2 separate regions of the Homo sapiens genome follow, and region 2 is linked to region 1. Evidence: promoter capture Hi-C in 16 types of primary human blood cells and fetal thymus (Javierre and others, 2016). All regions are on one chromosome and are shown on one strand. The core of a region is centred on a gene start or on the middle of the fragment in contact, and the rest is flanking DNA. Distances in the headings are between cores, read along the strand shown.

Region 1 (4,534 bases), core at 703-3,202:
TTCCCACCATTTATCACCAGCTGATATTTTATATTTTATCCTCTTTCATCTCCACAAAGCTTTTGTGAGAACAAGAATTTTTTGTTGTTCATTCTTACATTCTCAGTGTCTTGCACATAAAAGTTGCTCAATAAATTTCTGTTGAATCAAAGACTACTTTGTTGATAGACTGTAATATCCTCTTATTTCTCTCTACTCGCTTTATACAATTTGATGTGCTGTTCCTACCAAATGAGATAATCAAAATGAGAATATTAATATATCTGCTCAACTGTGAAAAGATGCCGGTACTGTGGGGGAAGGGATGGGAGCACTGGGAAAAACTATGGTAGCTTGTCTAATGCTTCACCGCCCACTTGAGACTTCAAGAGGACACGGTACACTAGATAAGAATCACTGCACACGACAGTACCTGTGCAATAGGAACCGCACACAGGGTTACTCCAAAGCCAATCGTCACAGTTTTGTGCCATGGTCTTATCAATTCTGAGAAACACCGCTTCTTAAAGTTAGCCACAACAGGAACACACAAACACTGTCTGTACCTGGAAGTAGAAGTCAGATTTCATAAGGCACGACCGCCAATCTGTAACAGGCTCTTGGATTTACTTGCAGGGGCTGTAAACTCAAACTCGAGCCAAGCAGGAACCTAAATGAGGATGCAGGACAGCTGAGGGGTTTTGAAATTTTCAACATACACCAAGTTTAAAATGTTGCCTCAGGCAGGGTGTTGGTGGCTCACGCCTGTAATCCTAGCACTTGGAAGGCCAAGGGCAAGGCGGGAGGATCACTTGAGCCCAGGAGTTCACGACCAGCCTGGGCAACATGGCTGGCAACATGACCCCGTGTCTATTAAAAAAAAATAAGTAAATAAAGGCCGAGGCGGGTGGATCACTTGAGGTCAGGAATTCGAAATCTGCCTGACCAACATGGTGAAACCCCATCTCTACTTAAAACACAAAAATTAGCCCGGAGTGGTGGCACGCTCCTGTAATCCCAGCTACTCGGGAGGCTGAGGCAGGAGAATCGCTTGAACCTGGGAGGCAGAGGTTGCAGTGAGCCGAGAGCGCCCCACTGCACTTCAGCCTGGGCAACAGAGCGAGACTGAGTCTCAAACAAAACAAAAAGAAAAAAAAAAATTAGCCGGGCGTGGTGGCGGGCGCCTGCAATCCCAGCTACTCGGGAGGCTGAGGCTGAGAATCGCTTGAAGCCGGGAGGCACAGGTTGCAGTGAGCTGAGATCTCGCCACTGCACTCCAGCCTGGGCGACAGAGGCAGATCTTGTCTCAAAAAAATTAAAATAAAATAAAATGTTGCCTTTAAACTTTTTAGAAACGGATGCCACAATAACCGCTCCTGCAGGCAGAATTTAGCTCTGGACCCCTGGCCTGGGTGCCAGTTGTGTGTGACGGTCCCGCTACAATCGCCCAGGAGCCTGCAGCGCTAGGTAGAGAGCCCTGCGCCAGCTCCCCCGGCCCCTTCTGCCCTCGGGAGGACGTCTTCAGACGCTCGTCTCCCTTCCCGGACTCCCCCCATGCCGTGTCCCTCCTCCTCTCCACGTCTCCTCAGGGACTTCGAGTGGCTGACGAGGGCTGGTCAGGAGGCGGAGCAGCCCCAAGAAGGCAGCCCGGGGTCTCGGGGACTCGTTTCTAGAAGATGGACGAACTGAAAAGGAAGCCGGGCTTGACCCAGGGGGCGGAGGCGGGGCTGTCCTCAGTCCTCCCGACCGGAGCGAGACGCCGCGACCCAGCTGGGCGGACGAGAGATGAGCGCGTAAGGAAGGCGGGCGCCGTGGGCCGGGCCACAGCGCTGTCCGCGTCGGTCCCTCCCTCTGGTCCTGTCCCCTCTACGCGGCCGCAGCGGTACCTGAAGAATGAAGTTACGCTGCGCGACAGCCAACTCTTCAGAGCCGCCATTGTGCAGCGCGCGGACGCCAGACGCACACGCCGGAAGTGACGCAGCTTCGTGAGCGCGGAGCGGGGCACGGCCTCCACCTGAGAGCGCCTCGCCCCATAGCCACGCCCCCACCCAAGGAAGCAGTCGGGATTGGGCAGGCAGGGGGAAAGGGGGCGAGGCTTAGGGCAAAGGCTGTAACGGCCGCGCAAGGCAACCAACCGCCGGAACTTCCGCGCGGGGCGGGGCATATGCAGGGCCTGAGGGCGCGGAGGTGGGTCCGGCGCGGAGCTGAGTCGGGCGCCGTGACGCTGGCGGGTGGGCGGGGACTCAGTTCGGGCCAGGGCTTGAAGGGAATTTCCTGGTGAGTTAGGGAGGCGGGGCCGGGCGGGAGGCGGGGCCGGGCGGGAGGCGGGGCCGGGCGCGGCGACGGCGCTGTCACTTCAGCACCAGGAAGTAAGTGGTCCAGCCGGCCAGCAGCAGCGCCCCGATGAGCACCGTGTAGCTGAGGAGCACGAAGGCGAGCAGCTCCCGCAGCAGCTGCAGCACGTGGACGGTGGACGAGGCCGGCATCGCGCTGCGCGGGAGCCCCAGGACGGTCGGCGGCCTGCCGGGCTGGCGCCGTCCCAGAGGGGCGGACGGGAACACACGAGGTCCTGGCCCTCGAAACAGCAAACGAAGGCCAGGAAGCCCACAGTGCCGACCTCCCCAACAGCCTCCTGGACGCTCGCTTCTCGGTTACACTGGAGAATCCTTCTCAACCCAAACTGCCCTCGTTCTTCGGCTCTGATCCGGGCTGAGGAGGCAGAAGCCCGGCTCTTCCCCGCGCCCCGCAGCTGCATGAGTTTTCCTCCCTGGCCCGCTCCTCCCACCACCTCCTGCATTTTTAATGCTGTGAGTGCCGCTAATGCGCTGGTGGAGTAAACCTTTCTTTTCCCGTCACTCAAGCTGCAGCCCCAGCTGCGGCCCTGGCTGGAAGGGGAAGGGGAGAGAGACCCATTTGGGCAGGAGGAAGGCACAGGCCCAAACCTGCTCTTCTGTGAGTCCCCTGGCCCCAAGGCTTGCCAGCAGCAGAGCTGGAGGATCTTTGCTTTGTGGTCCAGCATGCTTGCCTTCTGGCCAGCTGGGACTGCAGGGTGCCAGGTGGTGGGTGGGCATCAATCCGATCCTGGGCTCACCCCCGCCACCGTGCTCTGTGCATCTGCCCCAGCCCTGCTAACTTCCACCAGAGACGACATCAGACAGTAAGAACCCCACACCAGCTCATCAGACAGTAGGAACCCTACAACACCTCCAATGCTGCTTTGCCCAGCCACTCCCCACAGTGTCAGGCACTGGCTTCCTTCTCTCCCCACCTCACTTACTTGGCAAAGTTTCCACGAATCTTCCACCCTGAAGCTCCGCGGTTCTGTCTGCTCTGGTGCCCAAAGGTAGCTTGTGTGTATTCTGCGATCTCGGCAGAACTGAGATTTTCAAGCAGCGGCACTCAACAACTAGGTGTGGTCTAGAGACCAATTACAACCTCCGCGTGGTCCCCGAGCTCTCAGGGAGCTGCGCACAGGCGTTCCTAGCCCAGGCGGGGCGCTGGCAACCCTGCCCGCCCTCTGCCTGTGTCGCCACCACAGCCCACAGGGCTCAGATGTGGTTTCACAGACCCAGATGGGCTGAGCAGGCGGCACACTAGTGGGTATTTCAAGCCCCTTCTTGTTTTTTTCTGAACATTGTAAGGGGTTATGGGGTTATAGTGCGAACAGTTTCGTTTCTAACAAACACATTGAGAGCAGTCCCATCTCCTCCGAGTCTGGGCACCAGAAGAACCACTGGACAGTGTTCACTTGCGACCGCCCAACTACTAAAGCAAAAGCTGTTGTCTTAAAAAACATGCAAGTGCAAGCATGCACGGGTGTGAGAACCAAGCTTAAGTGACCGAGATCTCCTGAGTGCTTGATTCCGATTTACAAAGAGTTTTGCAGCTTACAGACTCATTATACAGATACTTTCCCAATGTGACACTTCCAATTTCACCTCCTCACAATGTGAGGCAAAAGGAGCCAGTGAGGATTTCTGCAAAGAACAGACACTTTCCCAGATGCAACAACAAAGGAAACGAAAGCATAAACTATGCTGCTTCTGATTATTTTGCTCGTTGCCGTAGTTTTTAGTTCAAGACTGTTTTCTGACCTTTGAAAAGAGCAGGCAGTGTGGACATCAACCCTTTTATCAACATCATCATCCAGAAGCAAATGGCTCCTTAATTTAATCAGGATCTCTTATTATCAAATTATTGCCTTGGCCACAGTGAGGCTGAAAACAGGAGCAGAACATTATCAAGCTGCTCAGGAAGCCAGTGAGTAGTAATTACTCCCCCAGAGAACTGGTCATCTTCCGTGTCCTACCTAGTGGCAACGGAGTACAGCTGAGATTTATACCCTCCTCCACACCAAAATAATGGATGAAACAGACAGGCTATTAAAAATAGGCCTGATTCTGTTCCCTTTTAACCCTCACATCCTTCAAATGGATGTCTCCAGGCAGTTAAGTGTTCTAGCCTTTGCGGCCCCTTGTTACCGCCTGATTTTGGGTGTTTTACAGCAACGGAGGAACTTAAGCAAAGAAACACTATGTGGCTTGAAATTCACACT
Region 2 (4,330 bases), core at 44-2,543, 180 kb before region 1:
AGTCTGTGACTGTGCCATAATTTATGTGAACAGTCCCTTAGTGATGGTCACTTAGGTGTTCCCGTCTTTTGTTTTGCACATGCAGTCCTGCGGGGGGTCTGGTACCCTCATCTCTCTTCACTTTTGCCCAGGTGCAGGTGGCTCTGCAGGCTGCGTCCCTGGAAGTGGAACCGTTTAGTCAGAGGCTGCATATGCACTCAGAATGTCACAGGTTCTGCCTGGCTTTTCCCCCCGAGAAGTCATGGGTAGGATGACACCACTAGCACAGGGGTTCTCAGCCTCAGCACCCCTGGCATTTGGAGACGGATCATTCTTTTTGTTTTTCTGAGACGGAGTCTCGCTGTGTCACCCAGGGCGGAGTGCAGTGATGCAATCTGGGCTCATTGCAACCTCTCTGCCTCCCGGGTTCAACTGATTCTTCTGCCTCAGCCTCACGAGTAGCTGGGACTACAGGCGTGCATTTGCCATCACACCTGGTTCATTTTTGTATTTTTAGCAGAGACAGGGTTTCACCATGTTGGCCAGGCTGGTCTCAAACTCCTGACCTCAGGTGATCCACCCGCCTCAGCCTCCAAAGTGTTGGGATTACAGGCGTGAGCCACCACAACCAGTCTTGGATCCTTCTTTATTGTGGGGGGGGGGCCATCCTGTGCATTGTGGGACATTGAGCAGCATCTCTGGCCTCCACCAAAATGTTTCCAGTTGTTAACCAATGTCCCCAGGATAGGGGCAGGGGTAAAATCACCCCCTGCTGAGAGCCAGTGCCCTAGCGGCTTTGCCATAGCCTTCGCTGCGTACAGTATGTGTCGTCCCCTCTCATCTCCCCTCATGGCCCCCGTGATCCCAGCATGCCCACCAGGCTTCCCTGGAAGGTGGTTCTGCAGGTAGAAGGCAGAGGGGGTGAGACGGGGGCTGTGGTCACATACAGGGGGACACTCACCAGCTGTGTGGGCCTGGGCAGGAACATCACCTCCACACACCCTCCTACTTCCTTGTTTGTAAAATGGGATGACCAGCTACTCGGGAGGCTAAGGTGGGAGGATCACTTGAGCCTGGGAGGTGGAGGCTGCAGTGAGCCATGATCGTGCCACTGCACTCCAGCTTGGGCGACAGAGCGAGACCCTGTCTCAGCAGAAAATAAAATGGGATAAACAGAAGCTGCCTCCCTCGCCGGGAGCGAAGGGGGCGAGAACGCCAGCAAAGTGCTCGGCCTGGAGCTGGGGCTTAGGAGGAGGGTCTGGGAGCTGCAGGGTTGCCTTGTCCACCCTTCTGTCGGGGGAGCGATTGCGGGGTTCCCAAGGACGGACATGGGCTTCGTGTGCAGCCGCGTTCCTGCTTCTTTCCCATCCTGGTTTCTTTCTGGCCGTGGCCTTGTTTCTCCCACGTTGGGGGTGTGTGTCTCCTTTGCTCTAGAAGCCCGATTTGAGCTCCGCAGCAGGAATTATGTTTTGAGTTAGTGTGTCCAGTTGGTTGCTACTTTCTCGCCACTACCACCAGATGCTAAATTGGTGGGACGCAGGTGGGACCTCCACCAGGGTCCTCTCTGGCCACCCCAGGCCCCTGGGCCTGCACGGCTGCCCTGCACTGCTCAGCCAGGATCCACCTGCCTGCTGCCCGAGCTGCCCGTGGGAAGGGCACAAGGACAGACCCGTGTGGCCTTCCCAGGTGGGTGCGTGCTGTCTGCCGGGATGGGGCAGGTCGGCCACCAGCTGTTGACCTTGCTTTGAACTTGTTTACTGCTGTGTGAGTTCAGGGAATGACATAATTCCTGTCCAAGCTCCCTGGACTAAATTTAGGTCCCAGGAAAATAATTTTCCCTGGGTGAGTTCCAGCACCGCAGCGCCCAGAGAATCGGCTGCTGCCCTGAGCTCCTGAATGCTCTGTGGGTTCCAAGGCCAGTTCCCACCAAGCTCTAGGGCCTGGCTCTCAGGAGAGGCCTCTGCCGGGCACCTCTCTGCCCAGCACGGGTCAGCGTGAGTCTCTGGGTGACTGGCCACCTTCATGATTTCTAAGCCTACATCTGGGGCACCCACCTCCCCCACCACTCTGCAGAGCCTGCTGTGCCCGGCAGAAAAGGAGCTGTGGTCAGATCCAAAGCCACAGATGGGCAACTTTTCTAGTAAAAACTTTAAATATTTATGTTAAAGCAAACATTTATTATGAAATAGAGTATAACAATAACATGATTTCTCTCTCTCTCTTTTTTTTTTTTTTTTTTTTTTTTTGAGACAAAGTCTCACTCTGTCACCCAGGCTGGAGTGCAGTGGTGCGATTTTCCGCTCACTGCAACCTCCGCCTCCTGGGGTCAAGCGATTCTCCTGCCTCAGCCACCCGAGTAGCTGAGATTACAGGCACCTGCCATCACACCCAGCTACTTTTTATATTTTTAGTAGAGACGGGGTTTCACCATGTTGGCCAGGCTGGTCTTGAACTCTTGACCTCAAGTGATCTGCCTGCCTTGGTCTCCCAAAATGCTGGGATTACAGGTGTGAGCCACCACGCCTGGCCTGGCCTGGCCCCTCTCTTTTAAAAAAAAAAAATAAATAAACTAGAGATGAGATTTCACTATATTTCCCAGGCTGTTCACAAACTCCTGAGCTCAAGCTATCTTCCCACCTTGGCCTTCCAAAGTGTTGGGAGTACAGGTGTGAGCAACTACACCTGGGTGATTTTTCTTTTTATTGAGATGAAATTCACATAAAATTAACCAGGTTAAGTGAATAATTCACTGACAGTACACTCACAAGGTTGTGCAACCACCACTTCTATCTGGTTCCAAAACATTTTAATCACCCCAGAAAGAAACCTTGCACCCAGCCGCAATCATTCTCCACTTCTCCCTTCCCCAGCAACACTGGGTCCCTGCCCAGGGCAACCACGAAACTTTCTGTCTCCATGGGTTTGCCTATTCTGGACTTTTCATATAAATGGAATCATATACTCTGTGGCCTTTTGTGTCTGACTTCTCACTCAGCATAATGTTTTCTTTCTTTTTGTTTTTTTATTGTTTTGTTTTTTGTTTTGTTTTGTTTTGGAGACAGAGTCTCACTCTGTCACCCAGGCTGGAGTGCAGTGGCATGATCTTGTCTCACTGGAACCTCCGCCTCCTGGGTTTATGGGATTCTCCTGCCTCAGCCTCCCAAGTAGCTGGGATTACAGGCGCGCGACACCACGCCTGGCTTACTTTTGTATTTTTTTAGTCGGGGGGGGGGGGGGGTTTGCCATGTTGGCCAGGCTGGTCTCAAACTCCTGACCTCAGCCGATCCACCCACCTTAGCCTCCCAAAGTGCTGGGATTACAGGCGTGAGCCACCGTGCCTAGCCTGTTTTTGTTGTTGTTGTCGTTTTTTGAGACAGTCTTACTCTGTCGCCCAGGCTGGAGTGCCGTGGCATGATCTCGGCTCCCAATCCAGGAGGTGGTCCTGGGTTCAAACGATTCTCCTGCCTCAGCCTCCGAGTAACTGGGATTACAGGCGTGCACCACCATGCCTGGCTAATTTTTGTATTTTTAGTAGAGACGGGGTTTCACCATGTTGGCCAGGCTGGTCTTGAACTCCTGACTTCAAGTGATCCGCCTGCCTTGGCCTCCCAAAGTGGTGGGATTATAGGCGTGAGCCGCCGCGCCCGGCCAGGGCTCCTAGTCTGAGAAGTAAGTGTCAACCCTGCTCAGACTCCCTGGGAAGGAGGGTCTTGCTGTCCCGTTCCCCCGCCCTCTGTGTCCCGGCCTGTCCCAGGCCCTGCACTGTCTCCTTCTTCTTCCCATCTTGCCTGCTTGCTTTTAAACTTAAGCATGGGTTATTTTCCCCTTTGTTATTACTCTGCCTCAGAAACCCCAGCAGGGAAGTCTTGGTCGCACAGGCATTCTCTAGGATTCGTTTCGTGTGTGCTTTTTAACATCAGGGTACCATGGTGTCCGGGCCTCGGGTAGGATTTTTGCTGCCCCTTCACGAGTGTCTGGCTCTGTGTCCAGTAAGCTTTAGGAAAAACCGCTGCCGCCACTGCCTCCTCCCAAGCTGCACCCACCCCCCCGCCCCATCCAGCCTGCACCTTCCTTCTGCTAAAGAAAACTTGGGGTGGAGCAGCAGGAAGACAGGCATGAGAAATCACCCGAATAACTGGGTTCATTCTACTGGCGATTCCTTGATGGAATGGTGTGCGGCCATCTTGTAAGCTGTGATATTTAAAGAACCTTTAAAGACATGAAGAATTCCTCCGAAATACCACATGACCCCCATTTGGGAAGAGGAGAAAATTTGTACGCATGGAGGGAGGGGAAACTGGAAAGACGGGAATTAATCCTCTAAAACATTAGTGGGGTGGTCCCTGGGTGG

What was found. Contacts are between HindIII fragments. The CHiCAGO score rates a contact against its expected background, and 5 or more counts as called.
Region 2: a fragment that was not itself captured here is called in contact with the fragment with the promoter of DIABLO in region 1 in 1 of 17 cell types (endothelial precursors); the score reaches 6.9 in endothelial precursors.

What each region holds. Positions count from the first base shown.
Region 1 is chr12:122,224,100-122,228,633 of GRCh38, forward strand. DIABLO (diablo IAP-binding mitochondrial protein) reads right to left here and starts at 1,953. Exons shown (of 6, transcript NM_001371333.1): 1 at 1,866-1,953; 2 at 413-545. The coding sequence starts at 1,915. LOC128125816 reads right to left here and starts at 2,465. Exons shown (of 1, transcript NM_001414998.1): 1 at 2,331-2,465. The coding sequence starts at 2,465. The coding sequence ends at 2,331. It overlaps LOC101593348 (a long non-coding RNA gene), which reads left to right and starts at 2,343. Exons shown (of 1, transcript NR_103497.1): 1 at 2,343-4,534. RefSeq lists enhancers at 355-1,260, 1,670-1,719, 1,730-1,969, 2,023-2,317, 2,267-3,098 and 1 more and a silencer at 2,260-2,399. The HindIII fragment of the contact is 3,750 bases long and covers 58-3,807 here.
Region 2 is chr12:122,049,667-122,053,996 of GRCh38, forward strand. All of the region lies in intron 4 of BCL7A (BAF chromatin remodeling complex subunit BCL7A), which reads left to right. Among named protein-coding and RNA genes, the nearest start is that of LINC02985, 11 kb to the right of the region's middle. The HindIII fragment of the contact is 5,355 bases long and covers 1-3,971 here.